Linked DNA regions of Homo sapiens: region 1 is linked to region 2. The links are contacts of gene promoters, found by promoter capture Hi-C in human tissues and cell types (Jung and others, 2019). All regions are on one chromosome and are shown on one strand. The core of a region is centred on a gene start or on the middle of the fragment in contact, and the rest is flanking DNA. Distances in the headings are between cores, read along the strand shown.

The links. The method cuts DNA at HindIII sites, captures the fragments that hold promoters and counts their contacts. A contact is called where the count stands out against the background at its distance.
Region 1: a contact is called between the fragment with the promoter of TGM6 here and the fragment with the promoter of SIRPB1 in region 2, in 3 of the 25 tissues and cell types used here (IMR-90 fibroblasts, small bowel and stomach).

What each region holds. Positions count from the first base shown.
Region 1 is chr20:2,378,912-2,384,046 of GRCh38, forward strand. TGM6 (transglutaminase 6) reads left to right here and starts at 1,990. Exons shown (of 13, transcript NM_198994.3): 1 at 1,990-2,064. The coding sequence starts at 2,058. The HindIII fragment of the contact is 30,296 bases long and covers 1-5,135 here.
Region 2 is chr20:1,617,457-1,622,164 of GRCh38, forward strand. It overlaps SIRPB1 (signal regulatory protein beta 1), which reads right to left and starts at 2,553. Exons shown (of 6, transcript NM_006065.5): 1 at 2,413-2,553. The coding sequence starts at 2,488. The HindIII fragment of the contact is 12,957 bases long and covers 1-4,708 here.

The DNA of each region.
Region 1 (5,135 bases), core at 740-3,239, 760 kb after region 2:
GTACCCTGAGCCGCCCAAGGCTTTGGCTCCCGTCTGTCATCTCTAGCCTGATCATCAGAATCAGAGAATGTTGGAACTGGTAACACTTAGTTCACACCCGTATTTTACAGATGAAGGCAATAAGGCCCAGAGAAGGTAAGTGACCTGCTGAAGGTCACACAGCCAGTTTGGCCCAGAGATAACAGAACCCAGGACTCTACTGCCAGGCTATGATGCTCACTTCTAAACTGAGTATGGGCCGGGTGCAGTGGCTCTCACTTGTAATCTCGCACTTTGGGAGGCTGAGGTGGGCAGATCACCTGAGGTCAGGAGTTTGAGACCAGCCTGGCCAACATGGCGAAACTGTCTCTACTTAAAATACACAAAAAATTAGCCGGGCATGGTGGCACACGCCTGTAGTCCCAGCTACTCAGGAGGCTGAGGCAGGAGAATTGCTTGAACCCGGGAAGTAGAGGTTGCACCGAGCTGAGATCGTGCCGCTGCACTTCACCCTAGGTGACAGAGCGAGACCCTGTCTCAAAAAAAAAAAACGAGGAGTATGAATTATTATTTGGGGTCTCGAGCAGTGGGGCAGGCAGTGATTTTGATGCCCTGTCTTCTGGGAGCTCCCGTCCAAGCAAGCCCAGGATGAAAGATAAAAGGGCCCTGAATAAGACCATCATTAGTGGGGAGGAGCCTGACCCTGCATAGGCAGAAAAGCAGCTTCAGCAGGGCCCAGGGTCTACAGGGCAGCAGCCTGCAGGGTGTTGAGGAAGGAGCTGCCCTGGGCTGCTGCCAGATGTCAGTAATTATAAGGCTATGTGGGTCTGCAGACAGCTCATTAAAGACGCTTGATCTGCGTGAAACCAGGAAGCAGAACTCAGCCTCTTTGCCACTTTCTGTAAGAAATCCAACCACATCAAACACTTTGGGGTTTTTATGCAGTTTCCTGAATGTTGGGGTGATCCCAGGGAGCGGCCTCATCCTACTGTGCTCAGCACACGGTTGTCTCCTTACCCTTCCTTGTCTCTTTCCCTCGATTCTACCCCCTCCCACTTCCCCTTCCTCACTGGCCCAGGCCACATCCAGCCTTCGATAGCCCCAAGTCATCCATCAAAGCATTTCTCCGGCAAAAAGAAACCTACCCCACCGGCTTCCATGAAAATAAAATCCCCTCTATTTCATTAACAAAAGACCTCAGATGCCTTGAATTCCAGCACCTTCAAGCCCAGAATCTTAGACTTTGAGCTGGAATGGCCCTGAAGAATAATTGAGTCCAATCCCTTTAGTTTGTAGGTAGAAACACCAGGGTTCCAGGAGGGGAGAGGTCTTGTCCAAGGTCACGGGACACCCATGGCCACCAGGCCTCTAAGCTCCTGGCTGGAGGCCACTCACAAAGTCAGGGCAGATGGGCCTAGCTTCTGAGTCAGAACCAGCTCTCCCCTTTTTCTTATCTACCTCCTCTCAAGAGTCTAGTGTCCACCAAGGAAGTCTAGTGGCCCTGAAGGAGGATCATGGACCTCTGCCTCTTTAGATGCCTGCAGAACAGAGTGGAGCTGTGGGCCCAGGAGTCTTCTGCTCTCACCCAGGAGGGGAGAGGGAGCCACAGACTGACCCGGCACTGCAGCGTGCAACCATGTACTTCGGGGTCCTGGCGCTGAGCCTGTTTTTTCTCATTTGAGGGTTGTTGTGAGGGCTAAGAATGGCCAACCATAAATCCGAGTTCCCTCAGTCTTCTCTCTTTCCCCGTTCTTTTTCTTGCCAGGCTTGTGACCTTTCTGAGCCTCAGTTTCTCCACAGTCCCATTCGCAACTCCGTGTTTCCAAGGTCTCTTGGCAGGAGCCACTCCCACAGTGAACCCCTCTAGGTGCAATTACAGGATGATTTTGTGTCTCGTGGGTGTCGCTGCTAGGGTGGAGGGCCACGCCTCCTCTTTTGAATTCTGACTTTCCTGCCTAGGAGTGTCCCAAGGTTTTCCTTGTTAAAATTGGTCTGGCTGGCTGCTGTGACGCGCCACACTGTCCTGACGGTGCACACACTGCTGTGTGGAGGAACAGAGGAGTCCAGCTGGCCTTCACATGGCAGGTAAGTGGGCAGAGCCTGGGGCCTTGGGACACCAGGGCTCATGAGGGGGGCTTCAAGAAACACGGGTCTGTGGGATGACGTTTGATCATCGATTGTTAGGATTTTACAGCTGGATAGTCCACCATGAACACATGAACTCTTCGTGTGGATTCATGAGGCCCAGGATGAAAAAGCCAGCTTTAAGCCACCCAGCAAGGCCATGGCCCAGGCTGGCTCAGGCGCTGTCTCCTGGGCTGGGGCCAGGTCTCACCCCTGTGCCTCGGAGGACTGAAGGAGGCAGGCACAGGAAGGCAGGGGCAGAAAAAAGAAAATCTCCTTGCACCCCATGCACATTCCATGGATCCAGAGACGTTTCTGGGCATAGTTGGGAATTGTGGCCTGCGTGGGAAGGAGTGAGAGGCCCCCACCGGCTGCATCCTCGCCTGATTCCCACCCCAAGCACTTGAGGGCAAGAGCAGCTCTGGCTCAAGTGAAAACAGCTATATGACCTTGAGCAAGAAAATTTGCCCTTGGTACCTCTGTTTTCTGATCTGTGTAATGGGGATTATAATGCAAATTATCTCACAGCCTTGCTGTGAGGAGTTGGTGAGACCACGTGTGCTGTTCTCCCACCACACATCTCAAGTGGGGACTTGTAAACAGTAGACTCAGAAAATGTGGGTCGGGCACAGTGGCTCACGCCTCTAATCCCAGCATTTTGGGAGGCTGAAGGGGGTGGAATTCTTGAGCTCAGGAGTTTGAGACCAGCCTGGGCAATGTGGCAAAACCCCGTCTCTACAAAAAAATACAACAATTAGCTAGGCATGGTGGGGAACACCCAAAGTCCCAGCTACTTGGGAGGCTGAGGTGAGAGGATCGCTTGAGCTTAGGAGGTAGAGGCTACAGTGAGCCAAGATGGTGCCACTGCACTGCAGGCTGGGCAACAGAGTGAGACCCTGTCTCAAAAAAAAAAGAAAGTAAGATAATGTGTCCCCCACGACCTCAATATAGTGAGCAGCAAACTCCCTCTGCAAGAACTTGTCTTAGATGCTGGGGCCCGGTAATGAGCAAGTCAGCAGAACCAGGGGTCCTACACTCACAGGTATTCAAGGGGTGTTTCTGAGTCTGTGTCTGCCAGTTTTAATTGTTCAGCATTATGTGACAGTTTTATGAATCAAATATTTTTTTAACTTTCAAAGGCAGATATTTGAATTTCCTCATCATAGTCTAGCTTCCTCTTCATATTTCCTCCTGGCAGTTAACAGCATTGCTGGACGTGTTGGGCCCTTCAGGCTCCTAGGATAGGTCTGTTCTGAAGACCAGGCCTTGCCAACACCAGCTCACAGCCCAGACTGCCTGTTTCCAGAGCTGGGGTTGCCTCCCTGATGGCCCTGGTGCAGAGGGGATTGCCTTTGTTCCTCCAAGATCTGCTTCTCAAAGTTCACCTAGATGATCCCTCTTCCCTGGGCCTTTGATAACCTATCAGACTTAAACTTGACAGTGCGAAGGTTAGTTTCTGAGGAAGGAAAAAAGTTGATGATGATGCCCATTGTCAGGTCTGTAACTAACTTGCTGGGTTCCTCTCTCTGAAGCTCTGTTTCTCCGTCTGTGAAATGTCAGCATTGGAGTTGTCATGCCTATGTAAATGGACTATGTGTTGGATTGGATTCAATTCCTGGGTCTTCTGGGTCCTCTTGGCTTCTTGGGAGGATCTGTTCCTCAGAGCAGTAGGTCCTGCCTACCACACACTCTGTGCCTGAATGACTGAGACATCAGATCCTAGATGGAAAGTGTATTCATCTTCCTGGAGCTCCTTCTATCCCCCCTCCCTCACTCCATCCATGGTGGACATCCCTAGTTGACCCCAGAGCTCTTCCCTCTGGAGCCTGGATGTGGCCCCAGAATGCTCAACCCAGCTCTTTAAGTACCAGTTGATCAGTGTTGGCAAAGGAGGTGAGACCCTTTTGCCATGATTAAATTACAATCATCTTTCAGCTCAGAGATTCCAAGAATTGAGTGGAATACTGTATGTGAGGCTGGCTCTGGCTGGGACATTGGGTTGGAGTTGATGAGTCACTGCCTCCTGGTGAAAGAGAGGCCAGCAGCTTCCAACAAGACCAGGAAGGAAAGAGAGATGGGGCAGTGGCCCCAGAAAGGCCCCAGGCAACTCTCGATAAATCATTTAGTCATGGAGTTCAGGTGCTCATGATGCGTACTAAGCATAGGATTATAATGGGGCCCATTAAAAACCAATTATGCTTAGTCCAGAGTCTGGAAGATGCCACTGGCTTCAACAGAGTTTCCAGGGCTCAAGCCCACTGGCCTGAGACAAAGAATTGGGGAGGATTGTATCATTCAGCTCTCTGGTATCACCCAAGGGCAGGAGGAGGAAGATGGATGAGCTAGGCTTGGGGGTGGGGATGGGTGGAGAGCTAAGTCGGCAGGAGGCAATGTTCTGCACATGGACCCTTCCCTTTCTTAGGTGGAGCTCTGGGGCCAGCTGGTGAGCAAATTAGTTGGGGAGGAGGTCAGAGGGCCAGAAGTGATGGGCAGGGCCTGACTGTCAAGGACCTTCAATGCCAACAAGATGGCTGTAGATTCCATGGTGCTTGAGCAGGGAAAATGACATGCTGACACTCAGAAAAGTCCCTTCTCCTCTCTGAACCTCAGTTTCTCCATAGTGATGGGATGGATTGAACAGGTTGAGCTGAAAAACACTCTGAAGCTGTTGGGGCCATACAGTCGCTTAAGCGAGAAGCAAAGAGGGGAGAATAACAAGAAACCCCGTGCATGTAGGAATTGGGGAGGGGAGGACCAAAGTGATGGGGGAGATGTGGGAAAGGAGTGATGATGTAAAAATCCCTGTTTGTAGGCCGGGCGCGGTGGCTCACTCCTGTCATCATAGCACTTTGCGAGGCCAAGGTGAGCGGATCATGAGGTCAGGAGATCGAGACCATCCTGGCTAACACGGTGAAACCCCATCTCTACTAAAAATACAGAAAATTAGCCGGGCATGGTGGTGGACACCTGTAGTCCCAGCTTCTCGGGAGCCTGAGGCAGGAGAATGGCATGAACCCGGGAGGCGGAGCTTG
Region 2 (4,708 bases), core at 1,303-3,802:
GTCTCTCATATGTGGAATTTTAAAAAGTTGAACTCATAGAAGTAGATAGTAGAATATTGGTTACCAGGCACTAGGCAGGGGGTGCATTTGGAGAGATATTGGTCAAAGGATACAAAATTTCAGTTTAGTTAGGAGAAATTAGTTCCACAAATCTATTGTACAATATGGGGTCTAGAGTTCATAACACAATTCGTAACCTCAAAAATTGTTGAAAGCAGATTTTGAGAGATCTCACCACAGAAATGATACATATACAAGGTAGGTCATATGTTAATTAGCTCAAATTAGGCATTCTGCAATGTACACATATTTCATTAATATGGTATACATGATAAGTATATACAGTTCTGTCAAATAAAAATAAAATATTTTGTTAAAAGTTTCATTGAAATTAGAAACTTGGAGAAACAATGATAAAAAATGAAATCTCCTGTGTGTGCATGTACACTTACTTATATGCATACATGCATATACATATGTATACACACATATGTATACACACATTTGCAAATATATATACACACACATATATGTATATATACACACACACACATATATATGTATATATAGACACACACATATACATTCACAAATATATATCAAAGTGTGACCTATTGTGATAGTATATAAGTTTGTTTTGTGTATTAAATAAAATTACAACACACGTTAAAATCTCATTAAAATATCTGGCCCATAGAAAGTAAAATATGTGGCCCATAGAAAGCATCCAACACATTAATAACAAATTTAGAAGTACATACATCACAGTTGTAACTCTGGTTGTTGCTAACAAGTGTGGTAGGCAATAATTAATTCTATGTTTACTTCCCTGCATTTTCTAATATTTCTGCTAGTAGCATAACACGACTAAAAGAATGAACTTTGGAGCCGGTCGACCTGGACTTGAATCTCAGCTGCTCCACTGACTGAGGTAGGGGACAATGAATGGACAAGTTCCTCCCTCTGCCTGAGTCTTTGTTTGGAAATAGGGGATAATAGTTGCAGCTTTCACACAGGGATGTTGTGAGGATTAGTGGAGCTAAAACAGGCAAAATGCTAATAACTGTGTCTACATGGTAGGAAGAGCTCAATTGTTAAACTCTTACTGCTGTCATTTGGGTACAGTGTATGTGTGAGAAAAATAATTTGAAAAGTGAGACCCCTGCCCTCTAGGGCCTGTGAGGTGACATCACAGCAGGGCCCAGTGGGGAATTGAGAGGCTGCTGTGCCCAGCCCTGTGGTTCTGGGGTCAGCTCCATGGCCTGAGAAGGGATCAGGACAGGTAACTTGTCTGGGAGCTGTGAGCAGGGTTCTCCCAGGCTGCACCAGGAAAGGCCCTCCAATCCTGCCTGTCTTGGGAAGGGGAAAGAAATTATCCATGGGAAATTTAAGAGAACCAAAGGAGGTTGTAGTACCTGTTATGGGCTGAATGTGTCCCACAAAATGCATGTGTTGAAGCTCTAATCCCCAGCACCTCTGAACGTTACAGTTTGGGAGACAGGGTCTTTAAGAAGTAATTTAGTTAAATGAGGTCATTGGGGTGGGCCTTAATACAACAAGACTGATATTCTCATAAGAAGAGGAGATGAGGACACAGACACACACAGAGGAAGATCATGTGTTTAAGACACAGAGAGAAAATGGCCCTGTATAAGCCAAGGAGAGAGACTTCAGTAGAAACTAACCCTGCTGACACCTTGATCTTGGACTTCAGCCTCCTTAACTGCAAGGAAGTAAATATCTGTAGTTTCAGCCACCCAGCCTGCAGTTCTTTGTTATGGAAGCCCTAGGAAAGGAATATAGGACCCAGTAAGCAGCAAATGTGGAACTTCTTAAAGAGGAAGAGGCCACAGAGAAATGGGTGGTAAGAATCAGGTCACAGGGGAGGGAGGAGCATGGGGGAACAGAGGACAAAGTGAGGAGCACCCTTAGGGAGGATGGTGGCTGAACACTCCCAGGATACACCACACCACTGCCCTACTCAAGTGAGCACTATTACAGACTTCACATCCTCAGTTTGGTGAAGAGAGAGGGCTGGGCCTAGAGCCACATAACCCTGTTAGGGTGTCTCTGAGCTTACTCTGTGGACTTGGGCATGTCACTTGGCCCTAGGGCCTCAGGACTGGTGAGGATTTAGATAATGATTCTTCTCTGCTTTTTCAATTGAAATATTATCAAAATGTAAGTAATTGTTGTTGTGGTGGTTGAATCGTCCTGTGGTTCAATGCCTCTGGTAGCCAGCTGCAGATCCACAGAGAAAGTGCTCAGCTCCCTGATTTTCTGCTCTCAGTCAAAGCCTAATCCTTGGCCTTTCTTGGCAGCACTTGTCATTGTCCGGAATCCCTGAAAGTCCAGGGACAGGCCATGGCTCAGTGGGCAGGAAAAAAGATTTTAACCGAAGGCAGTGCTCACCTGTGAGTCTCCCCAGCAGTAGCGTCATCAGCAGGAAAGGACTAGGAAGGTGGGGCCAGGAGGCTGGCACGGGCATTCTGGAGACCTTAGGAGCCTGCTCTGTCCAAACGTCTGTGCTGGGAAGATCGCAGACTCTGCTCTGAGGAGAGAAGACAAGCCCTGCCTCCCTTAGTTCAAGAGGAAGTGGCTGCGATGGAGTGAAGCAGTAACCTGCTTCTGGATTGTGAAACAGAAATCAGGAACAGCAAGCAGCTACAATGCAAGCAGTTATGCATGCCCCATTTCAGGAGAATCAGACAGGCTTAGCAGAAATAATGCTTCCTTCCCACCTGAGGTCTTAACTCCTTCCATGACTCCTAACCCCATCTTTATGTCTTCTTGGTGATTTGCCATTTGGTGCTCTTAAGCCAGGAAGGACCTGTGGTTATGAAATGTTTCCTAAACTTTCCATCTCAAGACCTCAGGATGTGGTTGGCTTGTGGTCTCATTCTACAACAGCCTCAACCAAGTGCTACTCAGTTGGGGCAGGATGAGGGATCACTGGACCTGCTCAGTGTTGGAGAGGAACAGGTCTGCTCTTGAAATGGTTCCCTATTCCGAACTTTTATAAATATAAATGGCAAAACTTAGCCCAAATTCAGTCTCATGTGGCCGTTAGCACTTTCATATGCCTGCACCCAGCAGAAGGAATTATTTCCTGACTTCTTCCAGGAGAGGAAGTGGGCTTAGGGTAATAAGGATCTGCTTTGTGAGGTGAGGTGGGGATTATGGGTTATGGAAAGGGGATATGTTTATTATGGGGGAGAATATGGAGGGCAGATTCCTGGAGCAGTCACATCGATTTCAATACTCTTTGCTCTGCACATAGAACACCTATTCCATTCATCACTGTCTTCAGATGGGAACTGAGGAGGGAGGGAGAATAAATACCCTAAGAAGATGTGCTAAGGAGTTGGGGAAGTTACTGGGCCTGCCTAGGTTCAGTTTTGCCTTCTAACCTTGGGATAATAAGTCTCACTGCCATGTTTTAGTGAACATCAAAAGAGATAATGACTATACATCCCTGAGATTCAGTAGGTTATTATTGATACTCATGGTGCCAGGTGAAGAGAGGGAACTCAAATATTGCTTTTAAATGGATTTCTACTGCATGCTGAGTTTCCCACCAGTGGCCTTCTCCCATGTTCCCCGGACTTCTGGAACCCAGCTTTTATGGTGTACTTGGTCTACCTCTGACACTCTGAGATCAATTTCTCCCTCTGGATCCTCTTCACCCTGCTTTTTGTCAATCTGTAGATGAATTCCTTTTCTTACAATCTCCAGCTGTGTGACTTTCAACAAGACACTTGACTTCTCTAAGCCTTAACTTAATTACATGTAAATGGAAGTTATAACATGCACCTTGTAGTGATATGGTAAGAGTAATATAAGCCATACAGAAGGTTTGATTCATATTTAATTATAACCAAAAAATTGTGGCTATAATTACATTTGTGTACAGGGTGAGTTCACTGCTTCCCTGACATACTTGTGCTTTAGAAAAATTTCCTTGGTAGGAGAAATGGTTTCTCCTCCATCATCTGTGACTAAGAAAGACCTGTCTGGAAACCTCTCTTTCCCATGCTGGGCTTGCAATCCTTCACCTATCATGAGTAATTGTCAAATGAAATTGTAAAAGTCATCACATTTCCATGCAAATTTCTTTTTCAATGTGGCAGATGCACAGAGGGTGAAATCATCACCTCCTGCTCCACACTCACAGAAATGAATATAAAAATGATAAAATCATGTTAATCGATGCCAAATTACACTTTAAAACAAGAAACTAGTCTCTATATGACATGAAGGGTAGTAGCTGCTGTGTTTACTGCAGATGTCCTGTGCTCCAGGTACTGTGCCAAGCATTTTGTCAGTTACCTCATTAATTCATCACTCTGGTCCCATGAAATTAGCACTACCATTAACCTTTTTTTATAGGTGAGGAAACTTGAGGCACGCAGGCAATAATACATTTGTTCAACATCACCCAGCTTTTAGAACTAGAACACAGGTTGTCACACTCCATGGCCTTCACTATGACACCTCTCATAAGAAGGGAGAGATATCTCTCAGGAAGGAAGCAGAGAAGAAGCCATAACGTCAATTAGGCGCAGCCTCCACAGCAAGGTTGGGATAGGTGCCATGTTCCATAAAGTGCTGACAGCCCATGATCACTCAGGGCATTATTCCTGTAAAGATTACAGTGAAAGCAGTAATCACTAAAGATTTGGGGAAAAGCGACATCATAATAAATTCA